Linked DNA regions of Homo sapiens: all the other regions are linked to region 1. The links are contacts of gene promoters, found by promoter capture Hi-C in blood cells and fetal thymus (Javierre and others, 2016). All regions are on one chromosome and are shown on one strand. Each heading gives the region's core, a stretch centred on a gene start or on the middle of the fragment in contact. The rest is flanking DNA. Distances are from core to core; before and after follow the strand shown.

Region 1 (3,315 bases), core at 433-2,932:
AGGCCTGGCAAGAACGTCAAGAGGCTCTGGGGGACGGTTGCAATTTTACTCTAGCCTGGCTGAGAGGTGATGTCAGACCTAGCAGACACACTGCATCAATCAGGCCCAGGCCTCCAACACAGAACAGTGCAGATCTAGAATCCCTAGAGAAGGAGCCCCTCAGGGTGGAAGACGGTAGACCACATCCCCCTGTTGACCCACTTCTGGCTAATTGGTGAGGTCATGGCTAACTTCCAAAGCTCAGTGCAGATATTGCCTCTGAAAACTTCCGAAGCCCTCAAGCTTTTACAGCCAGGTCAGAATAAACCACTCCTGTGTGTTCTCCTAGCACCTTTGCTGCATCTCTTAGTGCAGTCAGTGAATCTAGTTTGTCTTCCAGTTCATACTAACCTACCTTGTGAAAAGGAAGGGTCACATAATGAATTGTGTACTTTACAGTCTTCTCTAACAAAAGTGGGAGCTCTTCCATAGTGGGATACTGTTCAGGCTCTCATTCAATCATTACTGAGCACCTACCACGTGTCAGGCATTAGCTGAACTGCTGGGAATTCAGGGGTGAGGCAGACCCAATCCCTGCCCTCACTCTTACATCTCCTGTAGCCTAGCCCAATGTCTAGCCCAGGGCCTGGCACAGTAGGGCTTACGGATGGCAATCTCATTGGAAAGTTTGTCTTGAAACTGCCTTTGCAAAACAAACACTGCTTTAACTTACCTTCTATGCTAAATATATTAATAAACATTTTCTCAAGATGCATTGTCCACTAATAGCTTAGTGTTGAAGAACAGGCCTTGGGTCAGATGGACCTGGATTAAAATCCCTGTTCCCTCCTCTTACTGCTTGAGGGACTTTGGACATGTTACCTGACTTCTCTGAACTTGAGCTTCCTGATCTGTAAAATGGAGACAGTAATACCTCACAGGGTTGTTGTGAGGTGAGGAGCCTGCCCTATAGCAAGTGTCCTGCCATATAGCAAGTGCGCAGTAAACACTGGCCATTCTTCTTCTTGGTGTGATTACTGGGAATTAGTTGCCATTGTGCTGTTGGGACTGGTGACAGAACTCTTGGATTGAGAATGCCGAGATGGTGCACGGAAGATTCTGTGTGCTCTTTCAGACCAGGAGGAGGATGAGGAGGAGGAAAGTTTATATGACGTAAATTCATTTGACCGTAAGATATGTATTTAAACATCGTGGAGGATCTTGGGGGTCTGATGGGGAGTGGGGTTGCTGAAGCTCCAGCCACCCCTAGGCCCTCCACCTGGCAGGACCAAAGTTGGGGCAGTAGCCGAAGCACCGCCCCCCGGGCCCCGCAGGAGTGTGCAGTCACCCAGTTAGGCCTATCTTGGCCTGCCCATCACTCCTGGCCTGCGGTCTCCTAACCCTGTGGCAGCAGCAGCATTCCCTGAATGGATCGAAGGCTGCCATGGTGTCGTCCGCTGAATTGCTATAGGAGTCAGCCCAGGGCTGCTCATGTGCACCTCAGGTTGCTGATGGCAGCTCTAGTTATTTGGGGATGGAAGTTTGGGGAGAGTGGGCCTTGGTCCACCCTGTGCGAAAGGGAATTCCACAGCCCCCCGGGCGCCCGCCCCCGCCCCCGCCCCGCCCCCTCCCCGCCCCTTCCCCGCCGGGCCCCGGGCCCCGCCCCCGCTCTCCATAGTTACCGCGCTGTGGAGGCGGCGGCCATCTTGGCGGCGGAGCGATGAGCGGGTCTAACCCGAAGGCTGCGGCCGCGGCGTCGGCGGCTGGGCCCGGGGGGCTGGTGGCTGGCAAGGAGGAGAAGAAGAAGGCGGGCGGCGGCGTCCTGAACCGCCTGAAGGCGCGGCGGCAGGCGCCCCACCACGCGGCCGACGACGGCGTCGGGGCAGCGGTCACGGAGCAGGAGCTGCTGGCGCTGGACACCATCCGGCCCGAGCACGTCCTGCGCCTCAGCCGGGTCACCGAGAGTGAGTGCCGCGCGGGCCGCGCCCTCCCCTCGCGCCGTGCCCCGGCTCCCGGAGCCTTCAGCGGACCCGGCCACTTGACCAGCGCGGGGGTCCCCGCCAGACCCCCTCGGCCGGCCGGGCCGCGCTTCCCGCTGCCCCGCCGGCCGGGCTTTGCTCCCGCCACGCTCACGTAGCTCTGGTGGGGAAGGACTCTCCTGGGCTGGACCGCATTCCTGTGAGTCCGGCCACGCTAGGATGCCCTTCGGCCGGTCGGCTCCCCAGCTCTGCCGGACCTGTTTGGGTAGAGGGCCCCGTTCAGCTGAACTGGATCCTCCTGAGCCGGCCGGGGGCCGAGGTCCCCTAATAAATGGGCCCCTGGGCCCTCAGCCTGGAACCCCCGGCCATCAGTGAAGTTCCCGCTCAGCCAGGCTCCCCCAGCCCTCTGGCAGGCCAGAAGCCTTACCTGCTTCCTCCGCCCTGGCCCCATGGCAGCCCTCCCCCATTGCAGCCTGCCCGGCCTCCCTCCCTCTTTGGGTCGGGAGCGTTGCCCCTTAGTGTGCAGATGGGTTCTTCCTCAAAACACATAGCCGTGGCATTTCCTGCTCATTTAAAACTGTGCCACATTAAAACAAAAATAAAGTTTCAGTTTGTGTACAGACTCCGACATGTGAATCCTGCTTTTGACATTCTCGTGAATTAAGAATGATTTCAGAGTTTCAGAAATGCGTTTCCTGCACAAAAGGCAACCATCCTAAGCTTTTTCGTTGATAGGAGGATGGGTGGGAAGAAAAATGTTGCCCAGTCCCTGCCCTGGGTGATCTCCCTTTTTCTGTTCTCTGCCAAGCCAGTCCCTGACTTGACGTCTTTTCTCTTGCTGCTGTTTTCCCTGCAGGAGTGTGCACTCACCTAGTTAGGCCTATCTTGGCCTGCCCATCACTCCTGGCGTGCAGTCTCCTAACCCTGTGGCAGCAGCAACATTCCCTGGATGGATCGAAGGCTGCCATGGTGTCTGCTGAGCTGCTATAGCAGGCAGCCCAGGGCTGTTCAGGTGCACCTCAGGTTGCCGATTGCAGCTCTAGTAATTTGGGGATGGAAATTTGGGGGGAGTAGGCCTTGGTCCACCCTGTGCGAAAGGGAATTCCCATTTCCTAAAAGAGTTTTAATTTGATTCTAGATATTTGGATGCCCCCGTTTCCCAATACTGTTTGGGTTGAGACTGTCCTTACCAGACCTGAACGTATCTTTAGACATTCTTGTTAGTTTTATTGAAACAGTGTGAAAAAGCTTCTTTTCTTCTGAACCAGTTTTCATTTGGGGCTCTGAAAGTACAGATGCTCAGCACCTGGTCTTGGTAACCTCATGCCCTCTCCTGCCATCCAAGTGAGTTAGGGTA
Region 2 (3,315 bases), core at 337-2,836, 220 kb after region 1:
AGAGATTTCTTTCTTTCTTTTTACTTTCCTTTTATTTTGAGATGGAGTCTTGCTCTCTCTCCCAGGCTGGAGTGCAGTGGCATGATCTCGACTCACTGCAACCTCTGCCTCCCGGGTTCAAGCAATTCTTGTGCCGCAGCCTCCTGAGTAGCTGGGATTACAGGCACACGCCACCATGCCCGGCTAATTTTTTTTTTTTTTTTTTTTTTGAGACGGAGTCTCACTCTGTCACCCAGGCTGGAGTGCAGTGGTGCGATCTCGGCTCACTGCAAGCTCCGCCTCCCGGGTTCACGCCATTCTCCAGCCTCAGCCGCCCGAGTAGCTGGGACTACAGGCGCCCGCCACCACACCTGGCTAATTTTTTGTATGTTTAGTAGAGATGGGGTTTCACCATGTTAGCCAGGATGGTCTCGATCTCCTGACCTCGTGATCCGCCTGCCTCAGCCTCCCAAAGTGCTGGGATTACAGGCGTGAGCCACCACATCCACCCTAGATATTTAATCGAAATGATCCAGCTTGGTGAGGGCAAGTATCTGACCCTCTTGTCTTTCAATATCGGAATAAAGAAACTGAGCCTCAGAGCAGGCTCATGACTTGCCCAACGTCACACAGAAAGCTTGTGGTCAAGCCACATGTCAAATCCAGACCTCCTGACTCTGGTTTTCTAATCGAACTGTAAAGTGCTTCAGGACTCATGAGAAGGGAGAGGAATGTGAGGCATGGCGACCAGGAATGAGGCACCTTGGTGGAAGTGGAGGGTGGAAGATGGAGGAACATCCTAAAGGATGGCTAAAGCTGGGAGAGAACACAGGGGAGAAATGAAAATAAAACAATGCTATAAAGGGGCTGGCGTGGTGGCTCACGCCTGTAATCCCAGCACTTTGGGAAGCCGAAGAGGGCAGATTGCCTGGACTGAGGAGTTCAAGGCCAGCCTGGGCAACGTGATGAAAACCTTCCTCTACTAAAAACACAAAAAATTAGGCCAGGCTCGGTCGCTCACGCCTGTAATCCCAGCACCTTGGGAGGCCGAGGTGGGCGGATCACCTGAGGTCGGGAGTTTGAGACCAGCCTGACCAACATGGAGAAACCCCATCTCTACTAAAAAAATACAAAATTAGCTGGGCATGGTGGCACATGCCTGTAATCCCAGCTACTTGGGAGGCTGAGGCAGGAGAATCGCTTGAACCCAGGAGGCAGAGCTTTCGGTGAGCCGAGGTGGTGCCATTGCACTCCAGCCTGGGCAACAAGAGCGAAACTCCACCTCAAAAAAAAAAAAAAAAAAAAAATTAGCCGGGCGTGGTGGCAGCATGCAGCTGTAGTCCAAACTACTCGGGAGGCTGAGGCATAAGAATTGCTTTAACCTGGGAAGTGGAGATTGCAGTGAGCAGAGATCATGCCACTGCACTCCAGCCTAGGCAACAGAGCAAGATTGTCTCAAAAAAAAAAAAAAAAAAAGGGTGCAACGGAAGTGAAGTCACAGAGGAGAAAATGCTGTCCTAACTTAGGGCTGGACAGTTCTTTTTAGAGCTGGGGTTGACCGGGCAGGGTCAGGTTTATGAGAGGACACTGAAGCCACGCGTAGAAGAGGCGTGTGGACTCTGCCAGCTGTCAGCACACCGGGCTGTCACGATGCACTCAGGTTCCAATAATGTGCTGAGAATGCAGGAAAGGCAGCTCAGGGCTTTATAGACTCGCTGCCCCCAGTCCATCCAGAGGCCCAGAGAGGCCAAGCTACTCACCCAAGGACACACAGGCCTTGAAATCTGATACTTTCTGAATCCCAGCACTGCATGGCCTTTGCGTTCTGTGAGTGGCTCACACTGGGGAGCTGGTGACACCCTGACATGGGCTCCATACTTGCTGCTCCTTCTGCTTTTCTTCCAGTGGCACACTTGAGGGATGCAGGGACTCACATAGGACCAATTCCTGCCCCACTGTGTCCCCTAAGTAACCCACATCCAAAATATATCCCGAATTCAGCCATTTTCCTTCTTAGGTCAATTCATTCCTTCTCTCTCTCTCTTTCTCTCTCTCTCCTCTGTCAGAGAGACAGGGTCTTGCTCTGTCACCCAGGCTGGAGTGCAGTGATGTGGTACAATCATAGCTCACTGCAGCCTTGAATTTCTGAGCTCAAGCAATCCTCTTGCCTCAGCCTCCCAACTAGTTGAACTACAGGCATGTGCCACTGCATCCAGCCAAGTTTTTTTTGTTTTTGTTTTTAGTAGAGACAAAGTCTCGTCATGTTGCCCAGGCTGGTCTCAAACCCCTGGGGTCAAGCAATCCTCCTGCCTTGGCCTCCCAAAGTGCTGGGATTACAGGCTTGAGCCATGGCGCTGCCACCGCCTACTCCTCCTCCTCCTCCTCCTCTTCCTCTTCTTCTTCCTCTTCTTTTTTTTTTTTTTTGAGTTGTACAAGAAAATGAGAGGCCAAAGGCCCGTGATTTACAGGCAGCCTGGTGGAGGAGAAGTGGTGTGTAGTGCTGTTACATGGTCTCTAGGGCCATATACTCCGGTTTGAGTTTCTAGTTCTTTGACTATATGACTGTGGCTAAGCAATGAAGCTTTCTAGACCTGCGTTCTCATTCATTAAATAGGAATGATAACACCTCATAAGTATCTAAATGAGATACTGTAGGTAAGTGTACATCATAGAATTTTAAATCTGGTAAGTGTGTGGTAGGCTGAATAATAACCCCTAAAAGATGTCCAGGTCCTGCCGGGAGCAGGCTCACACCTGTAATCCCAGCACTTTGGGAAGCCAAGGTGGCGGGATCACCTGAGGTTGGGAGTTCAAGACCAGCCTGACCAACATGGAGAAACCCCCTCTCTACTAAAAATACAAAATCAGCTGGCCGTGGTGGCACATGCCTGTAATCCCAGCTACTCAGGAAGCTGAGGCAGGAGAATTTCTTGAACCCGTGAGGTGGAGGTTGCGTTGAGCCAAGATCGCGCCATTGCACTCCAGCCTGCGCAACAAGAGCAAAACTCTGTCTCAAAAAAAAAAAAAAGATGTCCATGTCCTAATCTCTAGAACTCTAGAACCTATGATTATAGGAAAGGAGACTTTGTAGATGCATCAAATTAATATTTTTGAGATGAGGAGATTATCCTGGATTATCTAGCCCAATATAATCACACAGGTCCTTGGAAGAGGTGGGCACACCAGAGTGAGCGGTAGCAGATTTGACGATGGAAACAAGAGGTTGTAGTGATCGATGAAGGGAATGTGAGCCAAGGAATGCAGGTGGTCCTCTAGAAGATGAAAAAGGCAAGGACACATTCTTCCCTCAGAGCCCTCACAGGGAACTAGCCCTAT
Region 3 (3,315 bases), core at 217-2,716, 200 kb after region 1:
GGGGTTTGGTGAAGGTATGGTGAATGAGGAGAGGTTTTCTTCTCTCTATCTGAACCAGAGACCTCCGAAGTGTTTCTTGAGGAAATGTGGCTGCAGACCCTAGAAGAAGCTACACAGCACTTGCCAGGGCTGGGATGATGTCCAGGCCATGGAAACACCGTGTACCTGGTCCCAGGAAGATGAAGTGTGGGCCCAGAGACTAATGGCTTGAGCATCTCAGGCTAAGGTTGCCGAGAAGTAGACAGCACCTCTAGATCCTAGTCAACATCTCTACAGGCTTGAAGTCTCCCCAGAGGGCAAGGTTGGAATAAATCTGAAGCCTGTGGCTTGCCTGGGAGCTGCCCAGACTGTGGCATCTGGGGAGTGACTTTTTAATTTTAATTTTATTTTGAGACAGAGTCTTGCTCTGTCACACGGCTGGAGTGCAGTGGCGCAATCTCAGCTCACTGAAACCTCCACCTCCTGGGTTCAAGCCATTCTACTGACTCAGCCTCCCAAGCAGCTCGGATTACAGGCACCCACCACCATGCCCAGCTATTTTTCGTATTTTTAGTAGAGACGGGGTTTCACCATGTTGGCCAGGATGGTCTCGAACTCCTGAGCTCAGGCAATCTGCCCACCTTGGTCTCCCAAAGTGCTAGGATTATAGGCGTCAGCCACCGCACCCGACTGGGAGTGACTTTTAGTCTCCCTGCCAGCAGCACTCAGCTCCAAGCTATAGCAGCCCCAGGTGTATCTGTGACACCTTTGGGCCTCAGCCAGGGAGTCAGGTGTGCTTCACAAGAGACTCAGGCATTAGGCTCCCCCAGGAGGGGTGCTTTGTCTCTCTGCACCCCACTGCAGGTGAGAGCGCTACAGCTTGTGCAATATTTGCTGAAAGAAGCCATGGAGGCTGGGTGCGGTGGCTCATGCCTGTAATCCCAGCACACTGGGAGGCCTAGGCGGGCAGATCACCTGAGGTCGGGAGTTCAAGACCAGCCTGGCCAACATGGAGAAACCCCATCCCTACTAAAAATACAAAAATTAGCCGGGTGGTAGTGGCACATGCCTGCAATCCCAGCTACTCGGGAGGCTGAGGCAGGAGAATCGCTTGAACCCGGGAGGCGGAGGTTGCGGTGAGCCGAGATCGTGCCACTGCACTCCAGCCTGAGCAACAAGAGCGAAACTCCGAAACGCCGTCTCAAAAAAAAAAAAAGAAAGAAAGAGGCCATGCAGGTGCCTCTAATTATCACCACAGTAATTATAGGATAGCTTCTTCCACCAAGTGTGTTCAAAAGAGACTTGGGGAGTCTCCCCCAGGATGGGTCCTCTGCTTTAGGCACAGACTCCAGGAAGCTGGCATTACAAGGTCTGTCTGGGCTGCTTAAGCATTGTTTCTGAGAACATCAAGGCTTAGGTCTGACCTGGCTCTACCAGTCCCTCCAGGCCATTTCTCCCCTCTGTCATCCACCCCTCGCCCCCACACACATGCATGTGCACTTTGTTTATATTCCATAGTGACCTGCTTGTAGCTTCCCCACGGGCTGTGTTCTTTTTTGCTTCCAATCCTCTGATCAAGTCCAGGAGGTTTCCCATTGGGTCTTTCTTTTTTTTTTTTTTTTTAGACAAAGTATCACTCTGTCGCCGAGGCTGGTGTGCAGTGGCGCCATCTCAGCTCACTGCAACTTTCGCCTCCTGGGTTCAAGTGATTCTCCTGCTTCAGCCTCCCGAGTAGCTGGGATTACAGTTGCCCACCACTACCATGCCCAGCTAATTTTTTTTTGTATTTTTAGTGGAGACGACTTTGGCCATGTTGGCCAGGCTGGTCTCAAACTCCTGATCTCAAGTGATCCACCCATCTTTGCCTCCCAAAGCGCTGGAATTACAGGTGTGGGCCGCAGCGCCCGGCCTCCCATTGCCTCTTAACTGCTGCTTATAGTTTTCGGGGCTTGACTGCAATGTCACATCCTCCAGGAAATCTCACTTGACCAAAACCTAGGCTGGGTTAGATACTTCTCTGCATTCTCATTGTCCTCTGAATTTACCCACATGACACTTGGCATAATGAACTGTCATCGACTGTTTACTTGTCAGTTTCTCCCTTAGCTTGTGAATGCTTCTTGGGAAGGGATTGTAACTGGCTGCCAGTTATATCCTGTGTGCCCAGCAGAGAGATTAGCCCAGAATAGAAGCTCAGTGTCTGTAGAATGAATGTTTGAGTGAAGGGGAAGGCAAGCCAGGATCCAGAACAACTTGTTTTGCCTGATGTCATACTCAACACCCACTTCTGTCCTCTGTAACTCCCTCCTTGACTAAGAGTGAGAGTTCTTAAGGGGAGAGAGATACGGGAAGACAGATCAGAAGTAAGGTATATGGTGAGCTTATCAGACACAGGGTCACTTGCATTCTTTGAACATGGGTTTTCAGAAAACGTTTTTTAGAGAAGTTTCAGGCTTACAGAAAAATTGATGGGAAAGTACAGAGAGTTCCCATATAGGCCTCTCCCTCCAGTAAATCTCCCCTATTAATCACATGGTATATTAGTGTAAGTACATTTGTTACAGTTGATGAGCCAATAATGAGATTAGGTTTTACTCTTCATGTTGTATAGTCTACGGGCTTTGACAAATACACTATGGTATGTAACCACCATTATAATGTCATACGGAATAGTTTCACAGCCCCAGAAATCTCCCACCCTCTGCCTATTCATCCCTCCCTCCCCATCAAATTCTGGCAACCACGGATCTTTTTACTGTCTGCATAGTTTTGCCTATTCCAGAATGTCCTATCATTGGAATCATACAGCGTGTAGCCTTTTCAGGCTGGCTTTTCACGTAGCAGTATACTTTTGATATTTTTCCATGTCTTTTCGTGGCTTGATAGCTCATTTCTTTTTATTGCTGAATAATATTCCATTGTATGAATGTACCAGAGTTCGTTTATCCCTTCACCTATTGAAGGACACTTTGGTTGCTTCCAACTTTTGGCAAGTATGAATAAAGCAGCTCTCAAGGTTTGTGTGCAGGTTTCATGTGGACATGTTTTCAATTTATTTGGGTATACCATGGATACTATGTATTTTTTGGAAGAATCTTGTTTAATTTCCAAATACTTGGGGCTTTCCTGGATATCTTCTTTGTTGTTGATGTTAATTGAATTCTGTTGTGGTCAGAGAATATATTCTGTAAGATTTCAGTCTTCTGAAGCTTATTGGAACTTGTTTATAGCCAACATATGGTTTATTGCAGTGACTATTCCAGGTGCACTTTAGAAGAATTCTATTATTTCGGGGTGCGGTGTTCTATAATAGTCAACTAATTCAAGGTGGCTGAT
Region 4 (3,315 bases), core at 554-3,053, 170 kb after region 1:
CCTTAAGCAAGTAAGCGTCTTAATATTTAAAGCAAAATTAAACAGAGATTTTTACCGCCCAACTTCTCATAGCTCATAATATGCTAATTCAGACCAAATTTCCAAGAGAGGGATTTAATATGCAGCCTTTTTCAAGCTTACTTGATTAAAGGTTCTCATTATCACAGAGAACCATTAATTGCAGAGTCAAAAATACCTGTGTTCAAATGCTACATGTGCCACTCATTAACTATAAAATCTTGGGTAAGTAATCAGTTTTTCATCTGTAAAATGGGAAAAACACCACCTACATTTCAGGGGACTGATTTAAAGGTAAAAGTTATATATATACACATGCAGTCAAATGTGGATTTAAAAAACTTACATATATATACAGAGTTTAACAATGTGCCTCACAAATTTTCAATAAAGTTGCAATCTGCCCTAAAAGCAGAAGTTGGTGATACTTGGAATTCCCATACTCCACCTCTGTTCCCTGCTTTTATCTTTTTTTTTTTTTCACTTTTCATTCCTCGGTTTAACAATCCTACTTGATTTTCTTTTAATTTTAACTGTTAGTGAAGGGAGCCATGTTCAAAAGCTTTCCTACATATTGACTCACACCACTCAACAGGCTACTGGAGGACAGGATGAAAAAAAAACACTGGGGCTGAGACACATTATTGAGTGAAAAAAGCCAGATAACGAATCTCAGCGTATATGGTACACTACTATCCTATTAAAAATGAATTACACAAAAGAATGAAGTTGGACCTTTACTATTATACAAAAATAGTCTCAAAAATGGATCAAAAACATACAAATAAGAGCTAAAACTAAAAACCCTTAGAAGAAAAAAGAGAAGGGCTTCATGACATTGGATTTGGCAGATTTCATGGATGTGACACCAGAGAACACACAACAAAAGACAGAAAAATTGAACCTTATCAAAAGTAAAAACTTGTGCACCAAAGGCCACTATTAACAAAATCAAAAGACAACCTACATAATGGGAGAAATTATTTGCAAATCGGCCGGGTGTGGTAGCTCATACCTGTAATCCCAGCACTTTGGGAGGCTGAAGTGTGCAGATCATGAGGTCAGGAGATGGAGACCATCCTGGCTAACACGGTGAAACCCATCTCTACTAAAAATACAAAAAATTAGCTGAGCATGGTGGCACGTGCCTCCAGTCCCAGCTACTCGGGAGGCTGAGGCAGGAGAATCGCTTGAACCCGGAAGGCAGAGGTTGCAGTGAGCCGAGATCACACCACTGCACTCTAGCCTGGGCGACAGAGAGAGACTCCGTCTCGGGGGAAAAAAAAATTATTTGCAAATCATATAACTGATAAGGGATTGATATCCAGAATATACTAATAACTACAGCTCAACAACAATCAACCCAGCCAAAAAAAAAAATGGACAAAGGACGTGAATAAACACTACTCCAAAGATACACAAATGGTCAATAAACGTGAACAGATGCTCAGCATCACTAATCACTAGAGAAATATAAATCAAAATCACAATGAGATACCACTTCATACCCATTAGGATGGCTATTGAAAGAAAACACACACACACACAAAATTCAACTAGTGTTGGCAAGGATGTGGAAAAACTGAAACCCTTATACATTGCTGGTGGGAATGTAAAATTTGGCAGTCACTATGGAAAATGGTAATGGTGGATCCTCAAAAAATTAAAATGTTGCCCAGGTGCGGTGGCTCCCGCCTGTAATCCCAGCACTTTGGGAGGCCGAGGCGGGAGGATCATCTGAGGTCAGGAATTCAAGACTAGCCTAACCAACATGGTGAAACCCTGTTGCTACTAAAAATACAAAAATTAGCTGGGCGTGTTGGTGTGTGCCTGTAATCCCAGCTACTTGGGAGGCTGAGGCAGGAGAATCACTTGAACCAGGAGGCAGAGGTTGCAGTGAGCCAAGACAGCGCCACAGAACTCCAGCCTGGGCAAAAGAGTGAGACTGCCTCAAAAAAAAAAAAAAAAAAAGAGAAGAGAAGAGAAGGAAAAAAATTAAATGTTGAATTGCCATACGAGATTGAGCAATCCCACTTCTAGGTTTATATCCAAAAGAACTGAAAGCAGGGTCTCGAACAGATATTTGTACACCAATATTCATTGTATTACTCATAGTAACTAAAAGGTGGAAGCAACTACTGCCCATCAACAAATGAACAGATACACAAAATGTGGTCTTACCCATACAGTCAAGTATTATCCAGCCTTTAAAAGGAAGAAAATTCTGACACACGCTAAATATAGATGAAGCTCGGGGGGCATTACTCTAAGTGAAAAAGCCAATAACAAAAAAAAAAAGAAACAAAATATTGTTAGATTCCATTTATATGAGGTACCTAGCATAGTCAAATTCACAGAGACAGAAAGGAGAACAAAGGTTGCCAGGGTGTGGGGAGAGAGGGGAATGAGGAGTTAAAAGTTTAATGGGTACAGTAGTTCCGATTAAACTTATCTATGGTTTCACCTTCCATGCAGTCAACCGTGGTCTGAAAATATTAAATGGAAATTTCCAGAAAAAAGTCGTAAGTTTTAAAGTGTGGACCATTCTGAGTAGTATGATGAAGTCTCATGCCATCCTGCTCCCTCCTGCCTGGGATGTCACTCATCCCTCTGTCTACCATCTTCATGCTATATACATACACTACCCCTACCCACCAGTTTGACATTTGATAACCATCTTGGTTATCAGATTGAATAAACAGTATATACAGGGTTCAGTACTATCGGCAGTTTCAAGGTATCCACTGGGAGTCTTGGGATGTGGATAAGAGGGGACTACTGTATACAGTGTCAATCTGGGAAGATTAAAAAGTTCTGGAAATGGATGGTGGTGAAGGTTGCACAATAATGTGCATGTACTTAATGCCACTGAGTTCAGTGACACTTAAAATGGTCAATTTTATGCTATGTGTATTTTACTGCAATATAACAGGGGTACTGCATAGGACTTTGTATACACATGTGTTTTCATGCACACATTTCTAGAAAGATAGAAAGAAAACTGGTTATAAGCTTTCTTGAGACAGGGCAACTGGAAGATCAGGAATAAAAGTGATATAATAAAAACTAGAGAGATTGAATACAGTGGTCTCCTATGTATCCACAAAAACTGATTATATATTAAATGGTATCAAAAGACATTCAAGATATATTTAATTTTAAAAAGCATATAACAAAACACTATTTACCATTTTAACATTACTTTCATAAACACACATACAAAAACAATCTCCACCTGGGCACAGTGGCTTATATCTGTAAACCCAGTGCTGTGGGAAGCCAAGGCGAAAGATTGCT
Region 5 (3,315 bases), core at 505-3,004, 170 kb before region 1:
ATTCCCAGATGTATGTTAAGGATTTGGTTCTCCAACTGTGAATTCTCAACTAATTTTTCTGGGGCTCCTCTTTAAGCCACTAACATACATTCATTAGTCAGTTGCAATAAATGCCTTAAGTTTATTTCTTAGCAGTAGGTGAAAGCTTGTGACAACTTAAAATAAAACAAACAAACAGGTATTTAAGGAATTTTACTGCTATGTCCTTCACTTTGAATATGTTGGTTAGTGGAATTAACTCTGATTACCCAACAAGATGATACAGAATTCTATAGTAGTTTGACCAAAGCAAGTATTTGTCATTGTTAACATTTCAAATGGGCTGGGTGGCTATAATCCCAGCACTTTGGGAGGCTGAGGCAGGCCGATTACTTGAGCCCAGGAGTTCGAGACCCTGTCCTACAAAAAAATAAATGAGCCGGGCGTGGTGGCACGCACCTGTAGTCCCAGCTGTGAAGAGGCTGAGGCAGGGGAGGAGGAAGAGCACTTAAACCCAGAAGTTCGAGGTTGCAGTGAGCCACGATCACTCCACTGCACTCTAGCCTGGGTGGCAGAGTGAGACCCCGTCTCAAAACAAGAAAACTTCTGTAAAAACTCATGTAGGCCGGGTGCGGTGGCTCACGCCTGTAATCCCAGCACTTTGGGAGGCCGAGGCAGGTGGATCATCTGAGTTCAGGAGTTTGAGACCAGCCTGGCCAACATGGTGAAGCCCCGTCTCTACTAAAAGTACAAAAAATTAGTCCGGCGTGGTGGTGCGCACCTGTAATCCCAGCTACTCGGGGGGCTGAGGCAGGAGAATCCCTTGAAACCGGGAGGCGGAGGTTGCAGTAAGCCAAGATTGCACCATTGCACTCCAGCCCGTCTAAAAAAACAAAAACTCATGTAAAGGCCCTTTGTTAGATTTTACAAATAACACATATGTGCCTTGAGGCAGCATTCTTTTTTTTTTGTTTAATGTGTGTGTTAGAAAGCTTGACCATGTTTGCCACCGCCAGTGTCTGCTTTTCTGGCTTCTGCTGTGCGTGTTCGTTTAGCAAGGAAGGATGGGCTTTGTAGCCAAATCCATGCTTCTTCACTAGCCATAATCCACTGCTTGCATTTAGGAACAAATTAAAAGGCAGGATATGTGGAGATTAAAAGGTTAGGAAACTGGATATTGGCTGATTTTTAAAGTTGAAACTAAGCTGCCTTAGGAACGTAACAGCTAAGACCAGTGCTACTACAGCAGATACTCAGGAGCTCTGATGCAGTGACTTCACGATGAGATGGTTGCTCTAACAAAAGGGTACACTCAAGCTCCGCATAATCCCATAAAAAGATTTCTGCAGTATCTCATAAGCTGAACACTTCATATACTTGATTCTGCTGGGAATCATTGAAAGGACCTCTTGAATTACAGAGTACTGAGTTGAGGGGAAAACAAGCGTAAGGTGAAAAGATAGTTTATCTTTTGTCAAGGTGAAAAGAGCAAGAGTTTTCAGTATTCAAATATTTAAGTCACTTTTTTTCTCCCCCTTTTCTACCTCGTGGAAGAAAGCCCTTTGGTTTCTATTCTGTAAACTGTCATTAATGGCCATTTGCTTCCTAGCTACATGATTAATTTCTTTGAGATTTTGTTCCAGTGGCTGGCTTAAATTTGCCCTTCATTTGTACACAGGAAATATGTAAATTTGGCTACCAGGATTTTCTTGATCTTTCCGGCTAGAGTCGCATACCACAGTTTCTTTGCCTGGGCTAATTGCCTGAACATTTATATAACATTCCTTTTCTTGATTATATTCCTACAGCTTCATTCCAGTAGTGTTAATAGGTATTTCTGAGAACATGCAGCAGTAAATATCCTGTGAATATAGCTCAGAGGAGAGAAGGTGGGTTAGAAAGTGGGGAAAGTCATTTAGAGGGAGCAAAGAAAGAGAGGCAAGAGAGAAGGTAGGCCGTTTATGGGCAGGCAGTGGACTCTGGCCAGGAACCAGGCTCTTGTCCCATCCCCCTGGGCCGATAGAACTGCCAGGGAGGTTAAGGGAAGGTCAGGTATTATGAGGCAGTTATTTTGAGGTTGGTGGTATGAAGCACTGCCCTGGCATTCTTCCTGTTATTCTGGTACCAGAAACCAGGTTACTAGTGGTAATCTGCCTTGAAGAATGCCTCTGAGCTGTAAATGGACCTGGAGATTTTAATGGCTTTGAAAATTGAGGTGATTTGAAGCCTTCAGTAAAACCACTTAGAGAAATTAAAAGAATTTCAGGGCCCGTTGGCTGGATTCCTTGGTTTATATGGCTTCATTGGAAGTCTAGTGGGTGCTCTTGACAGGAACGCTTTGGATTTATTAATGATAGGCTTTCAAATCATAGTAAAACTGTGTGTCAGCCACTATGGTAGGCATTTTACAGAAGTTTTCTTTCTTAATCCTCATGATTCTATGAGGAAGTATGGTAGAATATTAGTCCTGTTTCACAGAAAAGAAAATAGAGGCTTAGCAGTGTTAAGAGTGATTTGTCCAAGTAAATTTTTATGAAGTCCTAGGCGGTATTTTTCAATAAGCTTTGTATAATCACACTTAGCAAGCAGATAACTTACTGGCATGTGCATCATTCCTGATACCACCTCTCTCTTCCTTTCATTCAGAATTACTAATTTCAGCTGGATTCAATTTGTTGTCAGTTGATTCTGTAGTAAGGCCATATGTTGCCCCTCTGGAGGTGCTTGTCAACTACTCTGGATGATGGGTAAGCAACTTGCTTGTGATTACAGCATGAATCAGCAGCAGAAACTTGCTGACTGGTATTCTGACCTCTAGGCCGAGCCACCTGTTAGAACTAGAGCTAGAAATGAAGATGCCAAGTAATTTAACTGTGAAAAACTTGTGGCCCTTAATTTGGTAATGGGGGGAGGCTGAGATATACCTACTGCTACTTGGTGGAGACCTTTCCATTAGGGAAATGTGGAACAACTGAGAAGCTGGGTTAAGTTTTTAAGTCATTTATTTGTCGACTCTGGAGCCTGAGTTTAGTGGTCTTGTCCATTTTGGAATGTGTCTTGACAGTAGTTCTTGGCAGTTGTTCTCAGTGGTGGCTGTGCATCAGAATCTCCTCAGGAACTTTTTTTTTTCCCTCAAGACAGTCTTGCTCTGTCACCCAGGCTGGAGTTCAGTGGCGCGATCTCAGCTCACTTTAACCTCTGCCTTCCCGGTTTAAGCAATTCTTCTGCCTCAGCCTCCTGAGTAGCTGGATTGCAGGTGTCCACCACCACACCGGCCTAATTTTTGTATTTTTAGTAGAGATGGGTTTCGCCATGTTGGCCAGGCTGGTCTCAAAC
Region 6 (3,315 bases), core at 232-2,731, 150 kb before region 1:
TGAAGAGGGAGAAAGGGGTGTTGGTGGCTTTGCCCAAATCCAAATGGATGAATGTAGACCATCCCATTCATCTAGGAGGTGAGTTCTTTAAATTTTGGGGACAAATAATCCTGGGTACATTCTTTAAGGTGATTGAATATATCTAAGCATCAGAAAGTGAAGCCTTTGGGCAGGGCACATCTGGCATGTTCATATTAGTCATAGGATTCCAGTAGGTTAGGGTGGGGTTTGTAGAGAGTAGATTAATTATTGGTTTCAAGTTTGTTTAATCTATACATCCTAATTTTTCATTTTACAAGGTTTTATTACATAGTGTCTTTCACTGTGCCCAATCTTAGAGGTTCTGTGGTCAGCCAGTCTTGGTGCCTGTCGTCAAGAAACTCAGTAGTCCGATAGAAGAGACAGACTGGTAGACTGGCCATTAGGATAAAGAGTGTGATAAGTGCTCACAATGAATGCCAGAGATGTATTCCCTGTGTTTCATGCAGAAATGAGCATTTGATTAAAATAGCATTTCAGTCTCTGGGGAAAAGATAGATTTCTCAATAAATGGTATTGAAACAATTGATTCTCCCTAAGGAAAAAATAAAATTAGATTCCTATTTCATACCATTCATGAAATTAATTCCAGATAGATTGAAGAAGTAAATGTAAAAAATCCAAAAGTTTTAACCTTTTTATTTAAAAGAAAATATAGGACAATTTCTTTATAAATCCTCAGATGTGCATCTGTCTGAAGGATTGTGTGTTCTCATTTGGGTGGTAAATGTGTGTGTGTAATATTTTTTTCCTAGTGATTTTGACTGTTTAAATGTTTAGCAACTTAAAACATTAAAAATGTGTATTAATTAAAAAAAAATCCTCAGATATGGGTGGATTTTTGAACCAGGCTGAAATGATAGATGCTGTAAAAGACTGATAAATTTTATTTTTATTTTATTTATAGATATATAATATAATATGTATATATATATTTTTTTTTGAGACAGAGTCTGGCTCTGTCACCCAGGCTGGAGTGCAGTGGCATGATCTTGGCTCACTGCAACCTCTGCCTCCCGGGTTTGAGCGATTCTCGTGCCTCAGCCTCCCGAGTAGCTGGGACTACAGGCGCCCGCCACCATGCCTGGCTGATTTTTTTTGTATTTTTAGTAGAGACGGGGTTTCACCATGTTGGCAGGCTAGTCTCGAACTCCCGAGCTCAAGTGATCTGCCCGCCTTACCTCCCAAAGTGCTGGGATTACAGGCGTGAGCCACTGTGACCGGCCAAGAAAACCACTTTTAGTGTCCACAGAATTTTCGTTAATGAACATACCATCATGTCATTAACCCTTTATTTGAGATGGAATCTCACTTTGTCGCCTGGGCTGGAGTGCAGTGGCAATAATTACTTTTAATTAATTAAATTCATTAAAATAATTAAAATTAATTTAATTAATTAAATTAACTTTTAATTTTAAATTATTTTTTTTATTTTAAAAAATTAACTGGGCATGCAGGTATAGTTAATTTTTTATTTTTATTTTTAGCAGAGATGAGGTCTTGCTATGTTGATAGGCTGGTCTTGAACTACTCTTTTTTTTTTTTTTTTTTTTTTTGAGACGGAGTCTTGCTGTGTTTCCCAGGCTGGAGTGCAATGGTGTGATCTCGGCTCACTGCAACCTCCACCTCCTCGGTTCAAACGATTTTCCTTCCTCAGCTTCCTGAGTAGCTGGCATTTCAGGCACCTGCCACCACGCCCGGCTAATTTTTGTTTTTTTTGTGTGTGTGTGTTGTGCTTTTTTTGTTTTTGTTTTTGTTTTGAGATGGAGTCTCACTCTGTTGCCAGGCTGGAATGCAGTGGTGCAATCCCGGCTCACTGCAATCTCCGCCTCCCAGGTTCAAGAGATTCTCCTGCCTCAGCGTCCTGAGTAGCTGAGATTACAGGCACGCACCACCACACCTGGCTAGTTTTTGTATTTTTAGTAGAGACGGGGTTTCACCATGTTGGCCAGCATGGTCTCAATCTCTTGATCTTGTGATCCGCCTACCTCAGCCTCCCAAAGTGCTGGGATTACAGGTGTGAGCCACCGTACTCCGCCTGGTGTTATTTTTTTTTAATTTTATTTTTTGAGGCAGAGTTTTGCACTTGTTGCCCAGGCTGGAGTGCAATGGTGCGATCTTGGCTCACTGAAACCTCTGCCTCCTGGGTTCAAGCGATTTTCTTACTCCAGCCTCCCTAGTAGCTGGGATTATAGGCGCCCGTCACCACGCCCAGCTAATTTTTTGTATTTTTAATAGAAACAGGGTATCTCTATGTTGGCCAGGCTGGTTTCGAACTCCTAACTTCAGGTGATCCACCTGCCTCAGCCTCCCAAAGTGCTGAACGTGAGCCACCACACCCAGCTGGCTTGGTCTTAAACTTCTAAACTCAAGCAATCTTCCTGTCTTGGCCTCTCAAAGTACTGGGATTATAGGTGTGAGCCACTGCGCTGGTCCACCATTTCTTTATTCTTTATTGTTGGTTTTACTGGTTGGTTTGAGCTTTTCTTTTTCTGTGTGTGGTTTTTTTTGTTTTTTTTTTTTTTGAGACAGAGTTTCGCTTTTGTTGCCCAAGCTGGAATGCAGTGGCATGATCTTGGCTCACTGCGACCTCTGCCTCCTGGGTTCAAGCGATTCTCCTGCCTCAGCCTCCCAAGTAGCTGGGATTACAGGCATGCCCTACCAGGCCCGACTAACTTTTTTGTATCTTTAGTAGAGACGGGGTTTCACCATGTTGGTCAGGCTGGTCTCGAACTCTTGATCTCAAGTGATCCACCCGCCTTGACCTCCCAAAGTGCTGGGATTACAGGTGTGAGCCATGGTGCCTGGCTGGTTTGAGCTTTTCTGATATTACATACAATGCTGTAACAATAAACGCGTGACTAAAGTTTTGACTACATCTCTGGGTTTCTTAGATTTCTTATATCAAGAGCAGAGCTACAGACCTTATTTTAAGACCATTGTTAAATTATTTTCTAGGAAATCATGCTAAATTACCCCATTTTCACCCCAGAGAAAAGGCTGTATTTGAAAATTCCTATTTAGCTACACCATCGTGAGCTTTGAATGTTGCATTTCTTTGATCTTGCTGGCATTCTTATAGATGAACAGCACAGCCAGTACTCCAAGTTGCTGCTGGCCTCTAAGGAGCAGGTGCTGCACCGGGTAGTTCTGGAGGAGAAAGTAGCACTAGAGCAGCAGCTGGCAGAGGAGAAGCACACTCCCGAGTCCTGCTTTATTGAGGCAGCTATCCAGGAGCTCAAGGTGAGAGGATGCATTGGAGATGCTAAACCTTTT

Evidence for each region. Contacts are between HindIII fragments. The CHiCAGO score rates a contact against its expected background, and 5 or more counts as called.
Region 2: a contact is called between a fragment that was not itself captured here and the fragment with the promoter of UNC119B in region 1, in 1 of 17 cell types (endothelial precursors). The highest score is 6.2, in endothelial precursors.
Region 3: a contact is called between a fragment that was not itself captured here and the fragment with the promoter of UNC119B in region 1, in 1 of 17 cell types (endothelial precursors). The highest score is 6.0, in endothelial precursors.
Region 4: a contact is called between a fragment that was not itself captured here and the fragment with the promoter of UNC119B in region 1, in 1 of 17 cell types (endothelial precursors). The highest score is 5.8, in endothelial precursors.
Region 5: a contact is called between a fragment that was not itself captured here and the fragment with the promoter of UNC119B in region 1, in 1 of 17 cell types (M1 macrophages). The highest score is 5.8, in M1 macrophages.
Region 6: a contact is called between a fragment that was not itself captured here and the fragment with the promoter of UNC119B in region 1, in 3 of 17 cell types (M1 macrophages, M2 macrophages and megakaryocytes). The highest score is 7.1, in M1 macrophages.

What each region holds. Positions count from the first base shown.
Region 1 is chr12:120,708,776-120,712,090 of GRCh38, forward strand. UNC119B (unc-119 lipid binding chaperone B) reads left to right here and starts at 1,683. Exons shown (of 5, transcript NM_001080533.3): 1 at 1,683-1,943. The coding sequence starts at 1,700. LOC124903036 (a long non-coding RNA gene) reads right to left here and starts at 1,731. Exons shown (of 2, transcript XR_007063491.1): 1 at 1,662-1,731; 2 at 1,158-1,499. RefSeq lists silencers at 1,573-1,632, 1,723-1,992 and an enhancer at 1,600-2,442. The HindIII fragment of the contact is 2,396 bases long and covers 281-2,676 here.
Region 2 is chr12:120,931,587-120,934,901 of GRCh38, forward strand. No RefSeq gene overlaps it. Among named protein-coding and RNA genes, the nearest start is that of XLOC_009911, 29 kb to the left of the region's middle. The HindIII fragment of the contact is 1,944 bases long and covers 615-2,558 here.
Region 3 is chr12:120,907,597-120,910,911 of GRCh38, forward strand. It overlaps XLOC_009911 (a long non-coding RNA gene), which reads left to right. Exons shown (of 2, transcript NR_131215.1): 2 at 59-478. Among named protein-coding and RNA genes, the nearest start is that of XLOC_009911, 4.6 kb to the left of the region's middle. RefSeq lists an enhancer at 2,450-2,569. The HindIII fragment of the contact is 3,439 bases long and covers 1-3,186 here.
Region 4 is chr12:120,879,496-120,882,810 of GRCh38, forward strand. The region is part of intron 1 of SPPL3 (signal peptide peptidase like 3); the gene reads right to left. Among named protein-coding and RNA genes, the nearest start is that of SPPL3, 23 kb to the right of the region's middle. The HindIII fragment of the contact is 2,450 bases long and covers 579-3,028 here.
Region 5 is chr12:120,536,743-120,540,057 of GRCh38, forward strand. All of the region lies in intron 1 of RNF10 (ring finger protein 10), which reads left to right. Among named protein-coding and RNA genes, the nearest start is that of RNF10, 4.0 kb to the left of the region's middle. The HindIII fragment of the contact is 1,570 bases long and covers 970-2,539 here.
Region 6 is chr12:120,557,605-120,560,919 of GRCh38, forward strand. It overlaps RNF10 (ring finger protein 10), which reads left to right. Exons shown (of 17, transcript NM_014868.5): 6 at 1-78; 7 at 3,122-3,282. Among named protein-coding and RNA genes, the nearest start is that of POP5, 22 kb to the right of the region's middle. The HindIII fragment of the contact is 5,059 bases long and covers 1-3,315 here.